Regions from separate parts of the Homo sapiens genome. Here region 2 is linked to region 1. The links are contacts of gene promoters, found by promoter capture Hi-C in blood cells and fetal thymus (Javierre and others, 2016). All regions are on one chromosome and are shown on one strand. Each heading gives the region's core, a stretch centred on a gene start or on the middle of the fragment in contact. The rest is flanking DNA. Distances are from core to core; before and after follow the strand shown. Region 1 holds the start of HSPD1 (heat shock protein family D (Hsp60) member 1). Region 2 overlaps PPIL3 (peptidylprolyl isomerase like 3).

The links. The method cuts DNA at HindIII sites, captures the fragments that hold promoters and counts their contacts. A CHiCAGO score of 5 or more calls a contact.
Region 2: a contact is called between a fragment that was not itself captured here and the fragment with the promoter of HSPD1 in region 1, in 1 of 17 cell types (erythroblasts). The highest score is 5.4, in erythroblasts.

Annotation. Positions count from the first base shown.
Region 1 is chr2:197,495,534-197,501,089 of GRCh38, reverse strand. It overlaps HSPD1 (heat shock protein family D (Hsp60) member 1), which reads left to right and starts at 1,250. Exons shown (of 12, transcript NM_002156.5): 1 at 1,250-1,308; 2 at 2,240-2,415; 3 at 3,698-3,950. The coding sequence starts at 2,242. It overlaps HSPE1-MOB4 (HSPE1-MOB4 readthrough), which reads right to left and starts at 711. Exons shown (of 9, transcript NM_001202485.2): 1 at 651-711; 2 at 1-16. The coding sequence starts at 653. HSPE1 (heat shock protein family E (Hsp10) member 1) reads right to left here and starts at 711. Exons shown (of 4, transcript NM_002157.3): 1 at 651-711; 2 at 1-16. The coding sequence starts at 653. RefSeq lists an enhancer at 591-650 and silencers at 791-850, 1,041-1,370. The HindIII fragment of the contact is 3,758 bases long and covers 1-2,591 here.
Region 2 is chr2:200,865,912-200,872,132 of GRCh38, reverse strand. It overlaps PPIL3 (peptidylprolyl isomerase like 3), which reads left to right. Exons shown (of 7, transcript NM_130906.3): 7 at 612-1,226. The coding sequence ends at 738. Among named protein-coding and RNA genes, the nearest start is that of CLK1, 4.4 kb to the right of the region's middle. The HindIII fragment of the contact is 1,414 bases long and covers 2,560-3,973 here.

The sequences.
Region 1 (5,556 bases), core at 1-2,500:
TAAACGCTTGTCCTGCCTGTAGGAAGAGAAATGTTTTGAAACAAAAACTAAATGTAATCACATTATCAACAGGCAACGCCACCGTGCTATACATCTCAACACGTTTTGGCTTTGAAAGTTAACACCAAACCTCAGCTTATTCGTTAAGGAAGCGCATTTGAATGTACTAACCAATATTCCAAGTTTAATTCCCGATTCCTTACGTCTGTTAGGGGTCGTTGTCGCTCCTCCGGTGAGCAACCAGACCAGCTTTAAGGTCAACCTTAGTTTATTCCAAGGTCAAATGTTTTCCTTCTTCAGGTTTTTCCAGAAATTTTCAGGAAACGCTGGGTCAAGCTCCCTGCCTGGCACCATGATTTTTACCCAAGATATTACACATCCACAAAGGCCCTGCAGAAGCAGGTGAGACGCTGCGCGTGCGCCCGGGTTCTCGCCCCCCTGCCTTACACACCGGCAGCACACGCGCGTGCAAAGAGCCCTGGGGGAGAAAAGGGTCGGGCGGGCCTTGCCGCTCCAAGGTGCCATCGGGCGCTGGTCACTGAGTGGCCACCAATCCCTCCCGCCCAGCCCAACAAAAGAGGGGCGTCAGGGATCCCCGTACGCCTCAGACAGGCCCGGGCCTGCAGGCCTCGGGGCCACGCGGGACTCACCATTACTCCCTCCGCCTCAGACTCGTACTCTGCTCTAGTGTAGCGCCGCAAAGAGACTCGCAGTCCGGCCCTGGCGACACGTGAAAAAATCACCCAGCGCGCAGGCGCGCTCGCCCCAGCGGTCGCCGCTAGCCCCCTCGCCCCTCCCAGGGAGGGAGGGCGGTCGCCCCGACGCGCACCGCGATTCGCCCCAAGGGCCCTGCGCAGGACGCTGACGCGAAGACTCGGAGGCGGAAGAAAAAAGGAGCTGTTTCTAGGCTTTTCTAGGCGCCCAGCCGAGGTGAAAGAACTACCCCTTCGTCCCCTCCCGGAAATGACGCGATTTGACCCTTGAGCCGTAGGGAGCGCGGCATTTTCTGGAAAGTTCTGGAACCGAGCGAGGCCCGGGAACTAGACTAAGCCGGCCGGAGAGGGCTGAGCGCGCTAGCACACCCTGCGCGGGTAGGGAGGGGCGGGGCTCGCGCGCAGGGTGTGCAGATTGCAGGGCCCGGGCTGACGGGAAGTGGGTGGGAGCTGCCTGCACACGCGGTGCCGCGGGGCGGGAGTAGAGGCGGAGGGAGGGGACACGGGCTCATTGCGGTGTGCGCCCTGCACTCTGTCCCTCACTCGCCGCCGACGACCTGTCTCGCCGAGCGCACGCCTTGCCGCCGCCCCGCAGGTACGCGGCCTTCCCGCACCACCTCCCCCCGGCTCCTGCGACCCCCGAGTGGGCCTTCCTCCTCTGCGGTCCAGCTGGAGGGTGCGGGCGGCGACAACCTGGAGTTCCGCACCGCGCCGCACCGCAGGCCCAGGCCTGCGGGTCCAGGCCTCGCGGGTCCATGCGGGTTCCATCACGTGCGACGCGGATCCTGGACCTCGGCTGGGCGCGGGAGGGACAACTCGTGGGGTTTGAATTTGGGGGATTGTAACCACTTAGGCCCGCTGGTGCAACCTGCGCCTGGCCGACTTCAGGGAACCGGGGAGGGTGGTGTACGTGAGGGAACCGCTTTTTTCCCCCGCAGGCAGCTGGGATACCGCGCCTCCAGTCTTGACCTTGCTGGGGGCGTTCGGAAAGAAGGACACGTGGGCTCGCGCCGAGTGGGCCGGGCCGCCGCCCCCAGCATCGCGGCCTTGCTGGTTGCTCTGATACAGTAGCCTTGGGTGGATCCATGGAGACACTTTGCTGAGCGGCTTTTTGCACCGTCAGGAATACTTTTAACTTCCCTGGTCACTTGGATTTGTAACTTGCCTCTCTCCGGCTGACTTGGTTTCTCAGGGGCCACAGTTGGAGTGGGTCTGCCCACAAGGCCGTTTTCGCGGTGAAAGATTAACTCGTTTTTGGCGGCAGGGATAGGTGGCCGTGGGGAAGGAGCCGCATGTGCTTTGTGCTGGTGCTATAGGTCAGGCGCCGGCCGGGGCGGCCTCTTTAGCTTGCGCTAGTGGCTGATGTTCCGAAGCTGCGGCGCCTTCCGTCATTCAGGCGTAGTGGCTGGCGGAGGTCAGCCAGGCTCAGCATCTCACGTTGCTTGCTCTGTTGCACAGGTGGGCATGTTTGTTCTGCAGCGCACCACGGGTGGTAGTTCTGATGATCTTTTTGCTTCCATCCCCAGAAATGCTTCGGTTACCCACAGTCTTTCGCCAGATGAGACCGGTGTCCAGGGTACTGGCTCCTCATCTCACTCGGGCTTATGCCAAAGATGTAAAATTTGGTGCAGATGCCCGAGCCTTAATGCTTCAAGGTGTAGACCTTTTAGCCGATGCTGTGGCCGTTACAATGGGGCCAAAGGTACCAGTATTTTTATTTTATTGTAATTACGGTATTATTAATAGCATTTTACTCACAAATAGTCGCACTGAACTATTCAACAGTACTTTCATCTCCATTTTTGAGAGAACTCAGTTTACATGTAAGAATTCTGAAGTATTGGTTAGCCTTTTTTTCTTAGACATGATCTTAAAGCTTAAACTGCTTCAGCCAGATTTTCGAAACTATTTTGTTCAATGTGTGATGTAATCAGGTAGTAACTTACAGCTCAAGGTGGATTCTTAAACTCGAGGTAGAATTTCGCTGGCTTAAGTTAAAATTTGGATCCTTTCCCAGTAGTTCATGCCAAGTGTAGAGAGAAGAGTTTAACTTATCTTCCATAATTCCTTAGGTATGTGCTTGTAGATGCTAAATTTTTTTTTGGTTTATTGTAGTAAAATGTACACAACATAAAATTACCATTAAGTGTGCACTTTGGGGACATCAATTACATTTATGTTGTGCAGTCATCACCACCATCCATCTCCAAAACTTTTTATATGGAAAAATTGTAACTTTGTACTCATTAGACAGTAGCTTCCCATTCTCTCCTCCACCCCAAGATGCTAGTTTTACCCATCGGTTTTCTGCTGTTCTCTTGTTCCAAAGCATATTTAAAATAAGTCTCATTTAATAGGGGTAATGTTTTGAGGAGGCCTTTGAAGGTGGTGTGCAGTCAAGTGGTGCTTCATTTCAGTTTGAAGACAGTTCAGATATCAAGTGATCCAACAACTGCCTAAAATACAACATTTGCACACCTCACAAATAGAAAGTAGCAGCTTTAGTTCAAATCCAAAGGATGGCCAATAATTGTGCCATGGTTGAAGTTTTATGTTGCGTGAACCTGGAAGAGCACGCTACTTGCCTTGATGGTTAATATTTTAGTTAAACGGATTTTAAAACAAGTCACATTACTTTAAAAGATAACAGGCACTAACTAAAGTATAAGTGATAGGAAGATTGTTTTATTCTTTGTCTTGTGTTCTTGTTCATTTTATAAGATGACAAGTTTTAGTCCCTAGGATTTTAATCTCCTAAATTACCTAGTTCAAAATTATGCTCTTGGCAGAGAATCAGGTCATTTTGTCTGTAGACAAAGAATGTCGATAAACTTGCCCTTGAGGTTCATGCTGCAAGACTGATAAAAATGACACAACTTACGTTGAGACTTTGAAGTAGTTGCTTTATTATGAAGACTGCTCATTTTTAAAAATGTAAATCATCCTTAGGGTATGTCTGATCCTGTTACATTTTTTTCTTCTAGGGAAGAACAGTGATTATTGAGCAGAGTTGGGGAAGTCCCAAAGTAACAAAAGATGGTGTGACTGTTGCAAAGTCAATTGACTTAAAAGATAAATACAAAAACATTGGAGCTAAACTTGTTCAAGATGTTGCCAATAACACAAATGAAGAAGCTGGGGATGGCACTACCACTGCTACTGTACTGGCACGCTCTATAGCCAAGGAAGGCTTCGAGAAGATTAGCAAAGGTGCTAATCCAGTGGAAATCAGGAGAGGTAGGAATGTCTGTTGTCACCACAGTGTTCTAAACTTCAGTGTGCTTTAAGGCATTGATTCCTTGGACCTAAGGAAAGTGTTAACTTGAGGAAATTAATCCTTCTCTCATTCCTCCTCTTGGCCTGGAGAAATCTTAAACTGGGTTTTCCTTTAGCAAGCTTGGCTGTATGGTGGGTAGGTACTGTTAGGTAATTTTGATATTTTACTTAGTTGGTTTCTTTTGTTTTTAGAGACAGGGTCTTGCTCTGTAGCCCAGGCTGGACTGCACTGGAACTCCTGGGCTCAAGCAATCCTCCTGCCTCAGCCTCCAAGTAGCTGGGACTACTACAGGCACTCACCACCATTCCTGGCTAATTTTTAGTTTAGTTTTGTAGAAAGTAAGACTAAATACACTGGATCATTCAGAATGTCAGAAAGTAATGTTTTCCTCAGTTTATTTTTTCTTAATAGCACACACCATGTTATTGGTTTGTGTTTTGTTAGTGCTTGTAACTAGAGTGCAACTTAATTAACAATTTGCTCCTCCTCATGAGGTTCATGGCAGTATAGACTTAAATTCTAGTCCCATGTTTGTCATTTATTAGCTGTGTGCTAAGACTTGGTTTTCCTATCAGCAGAATTGCTATGTATATCTAGGGTATGTTAGGGTTCAAACCAGGAACCCTCTTGTAAGTGAAGGTGGGGGGAGCTATTGGTAATTTTTTGTCAGAATTGGCATACTAATTTATTACTACATTACTAATGTATCATTACCTCATCTATTTCAGTGTTTATGGGCCAAGTGAATATACTTCACTAAAAGCAGTTTTACTGTAAATCACTAACAAGTATTAATTAAGGTTATGAAGAGGACTTACCAGCACCTTGCATTGGATTTTTTTTGAAGTAACAGTTCTCAAACAAGAGAGCTAGCACTATTCCCAATTGAGCAAAATGGGACTATTAAGACTGATGTAAAACAAAAATATTTTGTTAGTTCATAATACGTACTAAATTGAGGGGATTTCAGATAATTGACACCTGCAGAGGCATAGTCACAACAGATTCCTATCATTTAAGAACTGTACTTCTTGTTGAAAATAAGGGAGTGTTAGCCATTTTGGTCCTTTTTTGCATCATCTAATGGACATGAGAAGTGTCGTGGACCCTATTGGAAACAGCATGATTGGGTTAGGAATTTGCATAGGATGAGTTCAGTGGTGAGACTTTTGAAACTACACACATCTACCTTGTTTTAGTCCTATTTTCAAAATTTTGGCATTGTGAGATTTTATTTACTGTGTGAACCTAAAGTTACTGTTTAAGTACATGCCACGCAACTCTGTGTTATTAAGAAGCACTGTCTCAGAAGCTGTGTGTAAATTTAATATTAAGGCACTAAAGACCAAGCATAGGTACATGCCTGTAGTCCCAGCTACATGGGAAGCTGAGGTGGGAGGATTGCTTGAGCCCAGGAGTTCAAGACCACCTTGGGCAACATAGTGAGACCTTGTCTACAAAAATAAAAGAAGCTGAGCATGGTGGCTTGAGCCTGTGGTCTCAGCTACTCCCTTGAGCCCAGGATGTCAGGGCTGCAGTGAGCCATGATCTGTGCTACTGCACTCT
Region 2 (6,221 bases), core at 2,017-4,516, 3.4 Mb before region 1:
TTAGTCAGATAGTACAGATCACAATCGGGACTTGGAACTGGCATCCGAAGTGGTAGGGGCTGTCTTGTGGGATTAACCGGGGTCTCTGTTCACTCCTTGTAGTTAGTGTCACAATTAAATTATAGGGCCAGGTGTGGGGGCATGCATTTGTAGTCCCAGTGAGATCCTGTCTTTAAAAAATTAAATAAAATTTTGAAAAAATAATCAAGTTGTGGGATACCCAGAGAATTGGAGAACTGGGAAAACCCACACATTTGGTGTTGGAAGTATGAAAGTGTAGAAAAACAGTTTGTTTTCCCTTTAACTGGTTATATTAGTCCCATTTGTAGCTGTTCTCTGTCACTGTATGAATGGGGTAGAATATAATTTTAGGTACTATGGTGGAAATATTCCTACCCTTTGTATTGTTGACTAAGGGCATAAAAGTAAATTATTTCTGAATTTTGATCCATATCTATGATGGAAAATCAACATTTTGTTGTACATTCAACTAGAGAACTCAGAGATCTGTAAGACTTGATTATTTTTTAAGGAGACTGTAATTGTCATAGATATGGATATCATGTTTCAATTTAAGGAAATTTTCATATGTTATGTTGTTTCTCTTTCAGGGTAATAGATGGTCTGGAAACTCTAGATGAGTTGGAGAAGTTGCCAGTAAATGAGAAGACATACCGACCTCTTAATGATGTACACATTAAGGACATAACTATTCATGCCAACCCATTTGCTCAGTAGCTATGATAGACCTGGACAAATAACTTGACAAATTGCTGGAACACACTTATTGTGGTTTACCCGGTTTTAATTATGTCAGAGATTGCATCATCCTTCTGCTTGTTTACAACTATGATCTTCTATGAAATGGTGGTACCAAGGGGCGCCCAACAGCTTTTATCCCCATTCTTAGAGCATATTCTTTATTATAATGATTATCCAACATATTTCTTTAATTTTAATACAAAAAATACATCATTTAATTTTTGTTACATATGAACATTCATTTTTAAATGCTCAGCCTCAAGTGCAGGCATTTTTGAGTGGCCTGATTACATATTCCTCCCACAGCAAGTCCGTATCCTGGAAGTGTTATTTTATAATAAAATTTAAAAAGTTTTAAAGAATTAAATCGTAGGACAAATTAATTAAAATATTGTGTAAAATTACCTTCAGGCTATGTGTATAAGGTATATATGAAACGTAAATGAACTTCATGTTTAAATTTGGGTCTCATCTCCAAGATATCTTATTATGTATATGCAAGTATCCCCAAATCTGAAAATTTGGGTATTCCTGAAACTGATACTAACGGTAAGAGCTCTACCATTAATTATTCACTTTATACAGTTAGAAAGAGGAGGGACAGGATAAAAAGTTAGTCTGGAAAGGCCAGCCAATCCATTTGCTATTTTCTCTGATTTTTTTTTTTTTCTTTTTGAGACGGAGTCTTGCTCTTTTACCCGGGCTGGAGTGCAGCGGGTCACTGCAACCCCTGCCTCCCAGGTTCAAGTGATTCTCCTGCCTCAGCCTCCCAAGTAGCTGGGACTACAGGTGCACACCACCATGCCCAGCTACTTTTTGTATTTTTTTTTTCAGTAGAGACGGGGTTTACAGAGACCATGTTGGCCAGGATGGTCTTGATCTTTTGACCTCATGATCTGCCCACCTCGGCCTCCCAAAGTGCTGGGATTACAGGTGTGATCTTTAGGTTTACAGTAAAGGCTCTCAGAGGTCCTGGAGGCCGAGTGTGGTGGCTGACGCCTATAATCCCAGCACTTTGGGAGGCCAAGATGGGCAGATCACGAGATCAGGAGATCAAGACCATCCTGGCTAACATGGTGAAACCCTGTCTCTACTAAAAATATAAAAAATTAGCTGGGCATGGTGGCGGGTGCCTGTAGTCCCAGCTACTTGGGAGGCTGAGGCAGGAGAATCACTTGAACCCGGGAGGCAGAGGTTGTAGTGAGCCAAGATCGAGCCATTGCACTCCAGCCTGGGTGACAGTGGGAGACTCCATCTCAAAAAAAAAAAAAAAAAAAAGATGTCTTGGAATACAGTAAACACTCAACATTTCCCAACTGATTTGCTCATGGACTTTTTTTTTTTTTTTTGAGACATAGTCTCACTCTTGTCACTCAGGCTGGAGTGCAATGGCACAATCTCGTCTCACTGCAACCTCCGCCTCCCGGGCTCAAGTGATTCTCCTGCCTCAGCCTCCCGAGTAGCTGGGATTACAGGCATCTGCCACCATGCCTAGCTATTGTTTTTTTGTGTTTTTAGTAGAGACAGGGTTTCACCATGTTGGCCAGGCTGGTCGTGAGCTCCTGACCTCAGGTGATCCGTCCACCTTGGCCGCCCAAAGTGCTGGGATTACAGGCGTGAGCCACCACACCCGGCCTGCTCATGGACATTTTTTAAGGCATATCTTTTTTTTTTTTAATTTTAGATTCAGCAGGTACATGTGCAGGTTTGTTACAAGTGTATAATGCATGGTGCTGAGGTTTGGGCTTCTACTGATCCTGTCACCCAGACAGTGAACATAGTGCCCAAAAGGAAGCTTTTCAGCCCTTGCCCCTGCCCCTTCCTCCTTTTTTGGAGTCCCCAGTGTCCACTGTTCCCATCTTTTTGTCCATGTGAATCCAAGATTTAGCTCCCATTTATTGTAACTGAATGCAGGCTGGGCTGCACGCCACTTGCAAAGTCAACAACAAGGAGGAGATGCAGGAAAAGGAAAGTGACTTTATTCCAGAGCTAGCAGTGGGGAAATGGCCAAAGCTAGTACCTTAAAGAAATCATTTTGAACTTTAGGCTGGGGAGAGGTGCTTAAAAAGGGAACTTAGAATGGGAGGCATGCGGGAGTGGTGCAGGGTTTCAGATCTCTGTGGCTTGCTGTAGTGGCTATCTTGAGTTGTGGTCCACCTGGAGTGGGGGCTGGCATCATCTCAACAATGGCTGGGTTGTTGACTAACCACCTTAAGGTAATCTCTGGAATTTTGCAGCTGGGTCTCCAAGCCTGGTATATGTCATGATTAGCCCTTGATGGGCCAGGCACAGTGGCTCACACCTATAATCGCAGCACTTTGGGGAGGCCAAGGTGGGAGGATCACCTGAGCCCAGGAGTTTTAGATCGGCCTGGGCAACGTAGTGAGACCTTGAATCTACTAAAAATTGAAAAAAAAAAAAAAAAAAAAAAAAAGCCGGATGTGGTAGCCCCAGCTACTTAAAAGGCTGAGGTGGGAGGATTGCTTGAGCTAGGGAAGTAGAGACTGCAGTGATCCATGGTCGTGCCACTGGACTCCAGCCTGGGCAAGAGAGTTAAGACCCTATAGATAAGAGTGTATAGTGTAAGTTTAACAAGTGTACAGTTAGATAAATGTGCATAGTATAAGGGAGTGTGAGGCGGGAAAGGGAGGGAAACGGTTTTAACAAGACTACATTCTGAAATTAAGAAAGAAAGGGCCAGGCACGGTGGCTCACGCCTGTAATCCCAGCACTTTGGGAGGCTGAGGCAGGCGGATCATGAGGTCAAGAGATCGAGACCATCCTGGCCAACATGGTGAAACCCCGTCTCTACTAAAAATACAAAAATTAGCTGGCCGTGGTGGCACGCGCCTGTAGTCCCAGCTACTTGAGAGGCTGAGGCAGGAGAATTGCTTGAACCTGGGAGGCAGAGGTCGCAGTGAGCCGAGATTGCACCACTGCACTCCAGCGTGGAAACAGAGACTTCTGTCTCAAAAAAAAAAGGAAAAAAAAAACTTTAAAATGCATTTCAAGGCTAGGATACTTGGTTATATTACAAGTGAGAACATAAGGCATATCTCTGAAAATATTGAAGAGTGGAGCTTTACAGAATATCCATTTGAAAAATGCAATGAACTAGTTAAAGGCACCAGTTTGTGGAGTTCTGGTCTGTGTTTGAATCACAGCTGTGTCCCTTACAGTGTAACTTTAAGCAAGTTAACATCTTCAAGCTTTAGTATTCTCATCCATAAATAATACCTCAGAAGACAATTGTGAGGGTTAAATGTGTGTAAAGCTTCTGGCATGTAGTAAGTAAGTAGAAGCTGCTGTCCTAACATTCATGTCCACCACAGGGCTCTCACCTCATCAAGCCATTCATTGGGTTCTACCACTGATTTCATCAAGACCATATTCTGCCCACTGCCTAGATCACAGTGGTTGGATTTGGGTGTTCCTAAAACTTATACCAGCCGAGCGTAGTGGCTCATGCCTGTAATTCCAGCCCTTTGGGAGGCCAAGGCGGGCAGATCACCTGAGGTTGGGAGTTCGAGACCAGCCTGACCAACATACAGAAAACCTGTCTCTATTAAAAATACAAAATTAGCTGGGCGTGGTGGCACATGCCTATAATCCCAGCTACTCGGGAGGCTGAGGCAGGAGAATTGTTTGAACCCCGGGAGGCGGCGGTTGCGGTGAGCTGAGATCGTGCCGTTGGACTCCAGCCTGGGTGACAAGAGCAAAACTCCGTCTCAAAATGTTTGTCTTGGCATCAGTTCTTGGTTTGTCTCATTTCTTCCAATGGCTGGTCTAATTAATGTTTTGATTCTTTCTTGACTAGTTTGGAGTTAGCTTACAGCTATCCTCTTGTCACCATTTATATCTTCCACTAAACTGAGGTGCTTTTTACTAGCAGCGAATCTGTATCCGTACAGGTCTGCAGCAACCTCAATTCTTGCCTCCTCAGAAGAAAGAATTCGACTGAGGGGCAGAAGGAGAGGGTGAGGCACGTTTTAGAGCAAGAGTGAAAGTTTATTAAAAAGCTTTAGAGGAGGAATGAAAGAAAGGGAAGTACGCTTGGAAGAGGACCAAGCGGGCGACTTGAAAGATAAATGTGTGGCTTGAGCTTTTGACTTGGCGTTTTATACACTGGCATACTTCCAAGGTCTTGCATTACTTCTCCCCACTTGCCCAACTCCTGAGATCTTATTGGGAAGCTGCTGCTCACCAGTTTCAGGTGTTTTCTATTAGGAGACTGCCGTTCCCTGGTGCCAGCTGTGACCAATTACTACTTCAGCAAGAGAGTTAATAACCGCCTGACCATCTCACCTGATGGTTGCCCGACACTCCTAGTGTGTGTTTGGGGGAGCCATCTCCTGCTTTGTTCATACCTGACTAGCTACCCACCGTAACAGTGCCAGTTATACTAGTGACTTTTTTTTTTTTTTGAGACAGAGTCTCACTCTGTCGCCTGGGCTGGAATGCAGTGGCGCAATCTCGGCTGACTGCAACCTCTGCCTCCAGGGTTCAAGCAATTCTTTTTTTTTTTTTTTTTTTTTGAGATAGAGTCTCACTCTATTGCCCAGGCTGGTACGCAATGTCGCGATCTTGACTCACTGCAACCTCCATCTCCCGGGTTCAAGCAATTCTGCCTCAGCCTCCCAAGTAGCTGGGATTACAGGTGAGCACCACCACGCCTTGCTAGTTTTTGTATTTTTAGTAGAGACAGTTTCAGCATGTTGGCCAGGGTGGTCTCAAACTCCTGACCTCATGATCCACCCACCTTGGCCTCCCAAAGTGTTGGGATTACAGGCGTAAGCCACCGCACCCGGCATACTAATGACTTTACATTTTGTTTCACTTTTAAAATTTTAATCATTTAAGTTTCTAGACTTAGTATTAAGGCCTTTCTTTGGCCAGACCTTGTTTTGCCACTTTTTTTTTTTTTTTTTTTGAGACGGAGTATTGCTCTGTTGCCCAGGCTGGAGTGCAATGGTGGATCTCGGCTCACTGCAACCTCTACCTCCTAGGTTCAAGCAATTCTCCTGCCTCAGCCTCCCGAGTAGCTGGGATTACAGGTGCCTGTCACCACGCCCGGCTAATTTTTTGTATTTTTAATAGAGACGGGGTTTCACCATCTTGGCCAGGCTGGTCTTGAACTCCTGATCTCGTGATCCACCCGCCTTGGCCTTCCATAGTGCTGGGATTACAGGCGTGAGCCACTGCGTCTGACCTCCTCCAAGTTTTATTCTAAACTCTGCCACTTTTAATTAGTGGTGCAAATATGTTTTTTTTGATTTTAGGAGTGTTAGTCCAAACTGCACCATTTTGTAAATCCTGCCCCCCCACCGCCCTGCCCCGTTTCCCCAGCCCTGCCTGGTCTCCCCCACCCTCTATTTTGCAGACCTTGGTCAAAGTGAAACATTCCACAGGGGTTCGGGCTGTGAGAAACATCCTGCCTAACCACCTGACCACAAAACGGA